Linked DNA regions of Homo sapiens: all the other regions are linked to region 1. The links are contacts of gene promoters, found by promoter capture Hi-C in blood cells and fetal thymus (Javierre and others, 2016). All regions are on one chromosome and are shown on one strand. Each heading gives the region's core, a stretch centred on a gene start or on the middle of the fragment in contact. The rest is flanking DNA. Distances are from core to core; before and after follow the strand shown. Region 1 holds the start of TCHHL1 (trichohyalin like 1). Region 2 holds the start of FLG2 (filaggrin 2). Region 3 has its middle 48 kb from the start of CRNN.

The links. Contacts are between HindIII fragments. The CHiCAGO score rates a contact against its expected background, and 5 or more counts as called.
Region 2: a contact is called between the fragment with the promoter of FLG2 here and the fragment with the promoter of TCHHL1 in region 1, in 5 of 17 cell types (total CD4 T cells, naive CD8 T cells, naive CD4 T cells and 2 more). The highest score is 6.6, in total CD4 T cells.
Region 3: a contact is called between a fragment that was not itself captured here and the fragment with the promoter of TCHHL1 in region 1, in 3 of 17 cell types (M2 macrophages, total CD4 T cells and naive CD8 T cells). The highest score is 6.7, in M2 macrophages.

The regions. Positions count from the first base shown.
Region 1 is chr1:152,087,644-152,090,343 of GRCh38, forward strand. It overlaps TCHHL1 (trichohyalin like 1), which reads right to left and starts at 1,421. Exons shown (of 3, transcript NM_001008536.2): 1 at 1,377-1,421; 2 at 363-520. The coding sequence starts at 500. The HindIII fragment of the contact is 6,885 bases long and covers 964-2,700 here.
Region 2 is chr1:152,358,641-152,361,340 of GRCh38, forward strand. FLG2 (filaggrin 2) reads right to left here and starts at 1,366. Exons shown (of 3, transcript NM_001014342.3): 1 at 1,316-1,366; 2 at 107-266. The coding sequence starts at 244. All of the region lies in intron 7 of CCDST (cervical cancer associated DHX9 suppressive transcript), which reads left to right. The HindIII fragment of the contact is 5,522 bases long and covers 1-2,700 here.
Region 3 is chr1:152,461,147-152,463,846 of GRCh38, forward strand. No RefSeq gene overlaps it. Among named protein-coding and RNA genes, the nearest start is that of CRNN, 48 kb to the left of the region's middle. The HindIII fragment of the contact is 5,711 bases long and covers 1-2,700 here.

The DNA of each region.
Region 1 (2,700 bases), core at 171-2,670:
TGGTTAACTTTCCCAGAACAGCAAGAACTTATTGGTTCTGCAAGCCATTTTTCATCAGAGAGCTATGCCTGAGAAAGAGCATTTACAACACTTGTGAGTTGCATTTTGATGCATAATGGTTTATGACTCCTTTCAGAAGTCAGCTTTGCAGAAGCAATAATCCCAGTGACGAAAACCTCTTTTTCTCTAAGTAATTGCACAGAGTATGGAACTGAGACTGAAAATAGTTGTTCAAGAGACAGTGAGTGCTGAGAACTGTTAGCTAGGTGTAAAATGGATGGGGATCACATATGCTCATCTTGCTTGGATTATAAAGAAAGGGTGAGTTGGAAAGAATTTACACAGCTCTGTGAGAAGCTCACCTGAAAAAAGTCCCCAAACTCGCCCTGGATGAGTTGTTTCAGCTCTCTGCCAGTCAGTGTTGCCCCGTTACTGTCCTCACTGGCATATTTGTGGAATGTCTCAATTACACAGAGGACATTTCTCAGGAGCTGAGGCATCTTTACAAACTCAGGAGAGGCTGTGAGAAAGAATAAACAAAGCTCATTTTCCAGGATGGGTCCTTCAGGGAGGAGATACCAAGATTATCCTTTTTGTTCCTCCCCCATCTCCACTGCAACCCCTGCTCTATTCTGTATCTTAAAATATTATATCTGAACTCCAGGGGTGATTTAGTATTGTACCAGACATTGTGGTGAAATCAGACCCAGCATAGGTAAGTATTAGAAGAGACAATTCACCCCACTCTTCAGTAAACAGCAACATTCATGTGCTCAGAGAAAGCTTCATTGCAAAAGGAAGGTGATAAGAGAACTCAAGCATAAGGATTGAAATGCATAAATGAAGCCAATAGAGTTGGACCCATTCTTCCAGCCTCATCCAAGAGTGTCTATCTGCTCTCCTCTCCCTTTGGCTCAGTCTAGCCTCCTGCGGTTAGGAGGGTATAACCTTTAAAGTTAGCAAAGCTTCTAGTGGAAAGATAAGTCACACCAAGAAAATTAACCCCTATGTTTGCAGGTGGTAACAACATGCTTTAACCAAGAAGACATGATTCCATGTCCCGACCCCTTATTCATTCATTTCCCATCCTTTAAATGCTTCTACATTTTCATTGCAATAGAGATCTGATCCTGTGCCTTGTTGAATAATATTCATGCCTATGACTTCTAAACAATTTATGTTTTTTTTAAAAAGAAAATGATCAAAGAAGTTCCATAATCAAGGAATGCATTTGGGTGGTTGGCGCTCCCAGTTTATTATTATTAATAGGGGTTGACATAGACTTAAAGTGTGTTTCCTTTGAAATCCTCTTGCAATCTCACATATAAGCAAAACAGCAACTGAAATCCCAAGTATGCTCAAGCAGATGGACTTACCTAGTTCACAAGCGAGAGCAGGTAGAACGTGGGGCAGCGGGCTGTGAGCTGACAGCAGGAGCTGGAACCTTTTATTGAGGTCCTAATTGCACAGTTAAGAAGGAGACACCCTCTGGGTCTAATGACCTGACATCACCACCAAATCCAGTCTCCCCTGCTCTGTTGTCAGTTGTCTTAATTTTATTTCCTTCTTTAGGCAGTTTCAATTAAATCTTAGCTTCAGATGCATCAAAAGAAAGGGGAGGGGGTTTCTTGATTCATTTACTGACTTTTGCAGATTATAGTTTTGAAGGCTCTTCAAGGTAGTGTTGGCTTCCCTCCCCCATTTTTTAACCTAAGGACATAATTACATTTCTGTCTGACAAATCATAGTGCTGGCAGGGACCTCATAAGTCATCTGATTCCTCTGTCTGCCCACAAGATGGCCCGTATTTGACCCAAACCTGAGAGATGGGTGTCAATCATGTGTTTAAAAATAAAGGCCCCCATTTAGCCATGTGACAAAAGTGGAGATACCAGTTGATTCAGATGTTTCAATGCTTTGCTCTCCTTGCCCAGAGGCAGAGTTAGAAAAAAAAAAAAATTCTTGCTTGGTGTGCAAAGCCTTGCTTACCTATGTTGTGCTATTTTAAAAACGTGATTGATATTTGCTTTCTAAAGACATTTTTACTATACAAGGAGCTTGAAACCAATAATCTATATTACTGTGTTCTCCCTGTAAAGGGGAAAGGGAGATGTTGAAATCATCAAGCTGAGAACAGAAGTGAGTCTGAGATGCTGAACTGGCAAACATTTTAATTGTCTCCTAGATCTGGGTCCTTCTTAGTAGAGAATATTTAATAAAATAAGAATTAGATTCAATGGTTTTCTTAGATATTTTTAAAAAATAGAGTATGTTTTAAAACACTCCTTGTCAAAGGATGGAAGAAATAGACAGATCAATGCAAACAAATATAAAAGACACAGACCAAGTTAAAGATGGGGTGGGAATGGGGGTAATTATATGAGAAAGCTGAAGCTAAGGGATGCATTGCTATTGAGCAAAAACCTTATTCTGAATTTCCTGATTATCGAGGAACATACAAGGGAACTAAATTTTGGGGAAAAACATTCATACTGATACTTTACACCTACAAACAATTTCTCAGCATCCTCCCAAAGGGAGAAGACTTCTGGGAATTGGAATTGGCATGTGAAGGTCATCTTAGTTCTGATTAGTTAATATCCCCAGAGTACCAGCTATTTCTCAACACTATGCCAGGAACTGGAGTGTTTAGAGTTGAGTAAGTTATATCTTCCTGCTCTGGAGCTCATGGGCCAGTCT
Region 2 (2,700 bases), core at 116-2,615, 270 kb after region 1:
TTTGCTTAGAGTTCACTGGGGCTGTGCACTTTTTAGCTGATCTGGGTCATACAACAGAGCTTGTACAGGACTCCAGCAGCCTTCAGTTCTGGCACATGGCTCTCACCTTCAGAACTGGATGAAGCTCTTTCTCCAGAAGTTCCTTTAGTTCACCCTTGCTCAGTGTGCCACACTCCCCATCTTGCTTGGTGTATTTGTAGAAAACATCAATTACGGTGACAACACTTCTCAAGAGGTCGGTCATCTTTTTGCAAGTTTAAGTGAACCTGGACACAGAAAAACAAAGAACCCTATTATTCATATTCTCTCCTTTTATCAGCAATTTTCATTTTAATAATAACCAGCATGATTTTTTTAACCTCTTGTTTTTTAAATCTCAAAACGTAAGAATGGGCCAGGGATGATACAACCCCGTTTAACACAATGAAAATTAACTTTGTTAACTTTGAGTTACTTTTCTGTGATCAAGTCTTGGCATGTTACTGGTTCAACTGAGAATAGACCTCAAGTCTCTATATTTCCTGTCATGGGTAAGTATAGTCTCTACATAGTATCTCTACACTTTGAGTGTGTTGGCATTCTGGGTGTTGTTCTAAGGCTTCCAAAATTTCCAGAACCAGCCAGACACCATTGCCTCAATCTCTCTTTCTAGTTTCACTGCTTTTCTTGAGTCAAAAGTGACAGACCTTCCACCATGCACATCTGTTTATCCTCTGGGCACCAGAAGCTAAACTGGACCCTTAAGGCCTTCAGCAAATTAAAAATGGGCAAAGGGGCTCAAAATAGCTTGGTGTTTCATAGGCATGAGACAGTAGAACTCAGTAGAGCTTAGGAACTCTCTTAATGTCAAGCACTTGACCAAACACTGTTTTCTTTAATTAATCAAGAAGAAGAGCTCAGCAATGCAGGCAGCAGTTTAACTAGTGGATAATTAGATCTTGGAGCTCTGGGAACCAACACTGAATAAGGAAGGGACTCTGCAACAGACCCAGCTGCCTCCCAGTTTGAGCTGGACAGCCCAGAAAAGAGGGCATGGAAAAAGACTCGGAACAGACTGTGGAATGGCCTAGAGGAAGGTGAACTTTTACTTGCATTATTCTTCTCCATAAAAATGAACTTAACTACAAAAAGGCCCCAGAATAAACTAAACTAACCAAACAAATAAGCAAACAAAAAGAAAAGAAAATGAAAGAAAGAAACAAAAAAGAAAAGAAAGGCAAAATATACATGAACTCTGCCTTAGCTTATATCCCTAGACTTCTACTATGGACAACACCAAATATTCATAAATGTAGCTGGATGAATTTTCTCTCACCTGGTTCACCAAAGGAACAAGTAGGATAAAGCCTGATGCAGCTTGCAGGGTGACGATGGATTGGGATAATGACCCTTATATAGCTTATAGTGATTATAGTGAATGAGGTGATTCATTTTCCATCAAACCTAACTCCACCTCTACATATTTACCTTCCTCCTTCACATTGTTATCTACAGATGATTGCAGAAAGGCTAGTACCAGCCCCACCTTCCAGTACGAGGACATGGTTGCAAGATACCTTTTTTTTCAGGGTCATATACATGTGAAAAGCACAGACTTTGTTTTAGAGGACTCATGTTATACATTTCTTTTAACTAGTACCCACAGAAAGTAGCAGAGTGTAAGATACTTGGAAGGTGCACAATAAATGCTTATTTAATTGAAAATGAACCTGAGCCACTAGGTTCATCTAATTCATGTCTTTTTTGTAATAATAAAAAGTGACATTTATTGAGAATTTACTATGTGCTAAATACTTTAAACAAACCATCTCAATCTTTAAAAAATCTGCACTTTTAGTTATGGGTACATAGTTGTATATAATTGTTGGGTACATGTGATGTTTTGATATGGGCATACCATGTGTAATGATCAAATTACAGTAATTGGGGTATCCAGCACCTCAAGCATTTCTTTGTAGTAGGAACATTCTAATTCTACTATTTTAGTTATTTAAAAATATACAATAAATAGTTAACTATAGTTACCATATTATGTTACCAAATACTAGATCTTATCACCTCATTTAATCTTCACAACCTTCATACGAGATATGTATTTATTATCCCATTTTATAGAGACAGGTTCTGGAAGCATAAGGATCTTCTCCAAGGTCATAGCTAGTAGGCAGAGAAACCAGAAGTTGAACCTGTATCTACCTTATTGCAATTGCTGTTTACCATTATACTAACTTACCTCTGTGTATTTATCATATATAACTATCATGCAAAAATTATGCACCATTTTAGGAGTGTAAGGCCCACTCAAACGCAAATAATATAAAAAAGTAACATACAGAGTGCTGTTAGGAAGAGAGGAAACATTCTCTGACCTTGTGAAGGCTCATTTCTAGGCTAGAAAAGTGTAATTGGCTATATATAAAAATAATGTTTTCAGATATGTTCAGGGTGAATTTAGAGTGAGCTTTCTTCCAGCACTCTGCGATCCACTGGTAGTCTGGCATGTTTAGGGCCTGGACCCTTGGGAAAATGTTCACTTATGTACAGAAAGTATATCAAATACACTTGAGGGTAACAAAAATAATCAGAGAGCTGTAAGTCTTAAGCATGGAGAGCCAATTCTGCTGTACTTTGCTACCAGGTGATAATGATGATGATGAGGAGGATAGCAGCTACCATTAAGTGCTAAGTGCTTACTATCTT
Region 3 (2,700 bases), core at 21-2,520, 370 kb after region 1:
GATGTTAAGGTTTTGACTTCTAAAAAGAGACGAACTGCCTGTATTTTAGGTTTATTTTATTTATTATTATTATTATTTTTTGAGACGGAGTCTCGCTCTGTCGCCCAGGCTGGAGTGCAGTGGCGCTATCTCGGCTCACTGCAAGCTCCGCCTCCCAGGTTCACGCCATTCTCCTGCCTCAGCCTCCCAAGTAGCTGGGACTACAGGCTCCCGCCACTACGCCCGGCTAATATTTTTGTATTTTTAGTAGAGACGGGGTTTCACCGTGTTAGCCAGGATGGTCTCAATCTCCTGACCTCGTAATCCGCCCGTCTCGGCCTCCCAAAGTGCTGGGATTACAGGCGTGAGCCACCACGCCCAGTTCATTTTAGGTTTTACTAACTCACTCTTATCCTTTAATCTGGCCACACAGATACCTTACCAGGTCTTAAGTCACTGTTAAAAAAAATTTTTCCCCAAACGTATCACATATTACCAGGATTGTCTGACTACATGTGTGCCTCCCACAAAGGGCTTAGCCTCTGTGTTGGGAAATGGAGATGTGCTAGAAAGCCAGGCTCGAGCATTGTCTATGGCCATCAGTGCTGTGCTAAATAAGGACTTGTGGAAAGGCGCCCTCTCGTGGGGAATCAGCGAATTAAAAATAAAAGAAGTTACACAACTGTAGCCATAGATACAGATAGATATGACACAAAATCTTCCTATTGCTTCCCTACACGCTCTCTTTTCAATGTCTTTCAAGAACTAAAAGTTTTTAATTTTAAGGATTTCAATTTATCAGTTTTTTCTTTTATAAAATATAAAATAATTTTTCTTTTATAAAATAGTACTTTTTATGTCCTGTTTAGGAAATCTTTGTCTACCCAGTATATTTTCTTCTGTTTTAATTTAGAAGCTGGATTATTTTAACCCTCACATTTAGGTCTATGATCCATTTCTTACAAATATTTTTGTATGGATTGAGGTAGGGGTCAAGGTTCATTTATTTCCCCACATGGATATTCAAATGACCCAGAATCATTTCCTACCATTTTTTTTTCCCCTACTACATTGCAGTGGAGTTTTGTCATAACTTAGTTGGCCGTATATGTATGGGAACGTTTTTGACTTCTTATTTTGTTCTATTGTTCTACTTTCAAACTAATACCGCAGTCGTAGTTACTGCAATGTTATAACAAATTTTGATATCGGGCGGTATAAATCTCGCAAATTTATCCCTTTTTAAAATATTGGCTGGCTGGGCTATTCTCTTTGCTCCTTCCTTCCTTCCTTTTTTTTTTTTTTTTTTTTTGAGTTTCACTCTTGTTGCCCAGGCTGGAGTTCAATGGCGCGATCTTGGCTCACTGCAACCTCCGCCTGCCAGGTTCAAGCGATTCTCCTGCCTCAGTTTACCAAGTAGCTGGGATTACAGGCATGCGCCACCACGCCTGGCTAATTTTGTATATATTTATTAATTTTTTTTAGGCGGAGTCCCACTCTGTCGCCCACGCTGGAGTGCAGTGGCGCGATCTCCGCTCACTGCTACTTCTGCCTCTCGGGTTCAAGCGATTCTCCTGCCTCAGCCTCCTGATTAGCTGGCATTACAGGCGCGCTCCATCACGCCCGGCCCTAATTTTGTATTTTTAGTAGAGACAGGGTTTCACCATGTTGGTCAGGCTGGTCTCGAACTCCTGACCTCGTGACCGCCCGCCTCGACCTCCCAAAGCGCTGGGATTAAAGGCGCGAGCCATCGCGCCCGGCCCTAATTTTGTATTTTTAGTAGAGAAGGGGTTTCACCATGTTGGTCAGGCTGGCCGGTCTCGAACACCTGACCTCGGGTGATCCACCAAAGTGCTGGCAGAGCCAACACGCCCGACCAATTCTTTGCATTTTCATACACGTTTTAGAATTTGCCTGTCAATTTTATTTAAAAAACCCTGCTGGGATGAGAATTTCTTTAACTCTATACAAAAAAGTGAAGATAATTGACATGTTACAATATCAAATTTCTAACTCATAAATATTGAATATTTTTTCATTTATTTAGGACTTCTTTCATTTCTCTCAGTACTATTTTATAGTTTTCAGCCTAGAGAAGTTGCACATTTTCTAACAGATTTATTTCTGTTTGTTTGATGTTTGTGGGTGCTATAATAAATGATATCTTAAAATTTTTATTTCTTATTTGATGGTTGCTAATAAATCAAAATACAATTGATTTATTGTAAATTGACTTTTATCTATCATCCTTGTTAAGTTTAGTTATAATTTTAGTTGTTTTGTACATTATTTTTGATTTTACACGAACACAATCATGTCATCTGAGAATAATAAGTTTTATTTTTTCTAATCTGAATATCTTTTATTATTATTTTCTATTTCTATTGTGATGACCATATTATATTTCTCCTTTACTTTATTAATGTTAATTAATCATTAATTGCCTTTCAAATTTGAAAGAGGTTTGAAACTGTTTCTAAAATAAACTCTATTTGTTGATCAGTTATATGTTATTCAACCAAACACTAATCTAGGTTTTGTTGTAAATGTATTTTAAAGATGTGATTAATATTTGTAATCAGTTCACTTTAAGTAAACGAAATTGCTCTATGGATTTCAGACTTGCCTATCCAGCATCCACAATCCTATAAGCCAGTTCCTTGCAATCACTTTCTCTTTCTTTCCCTCTCCTCCACCCCCTTTCCTACACACACACACACA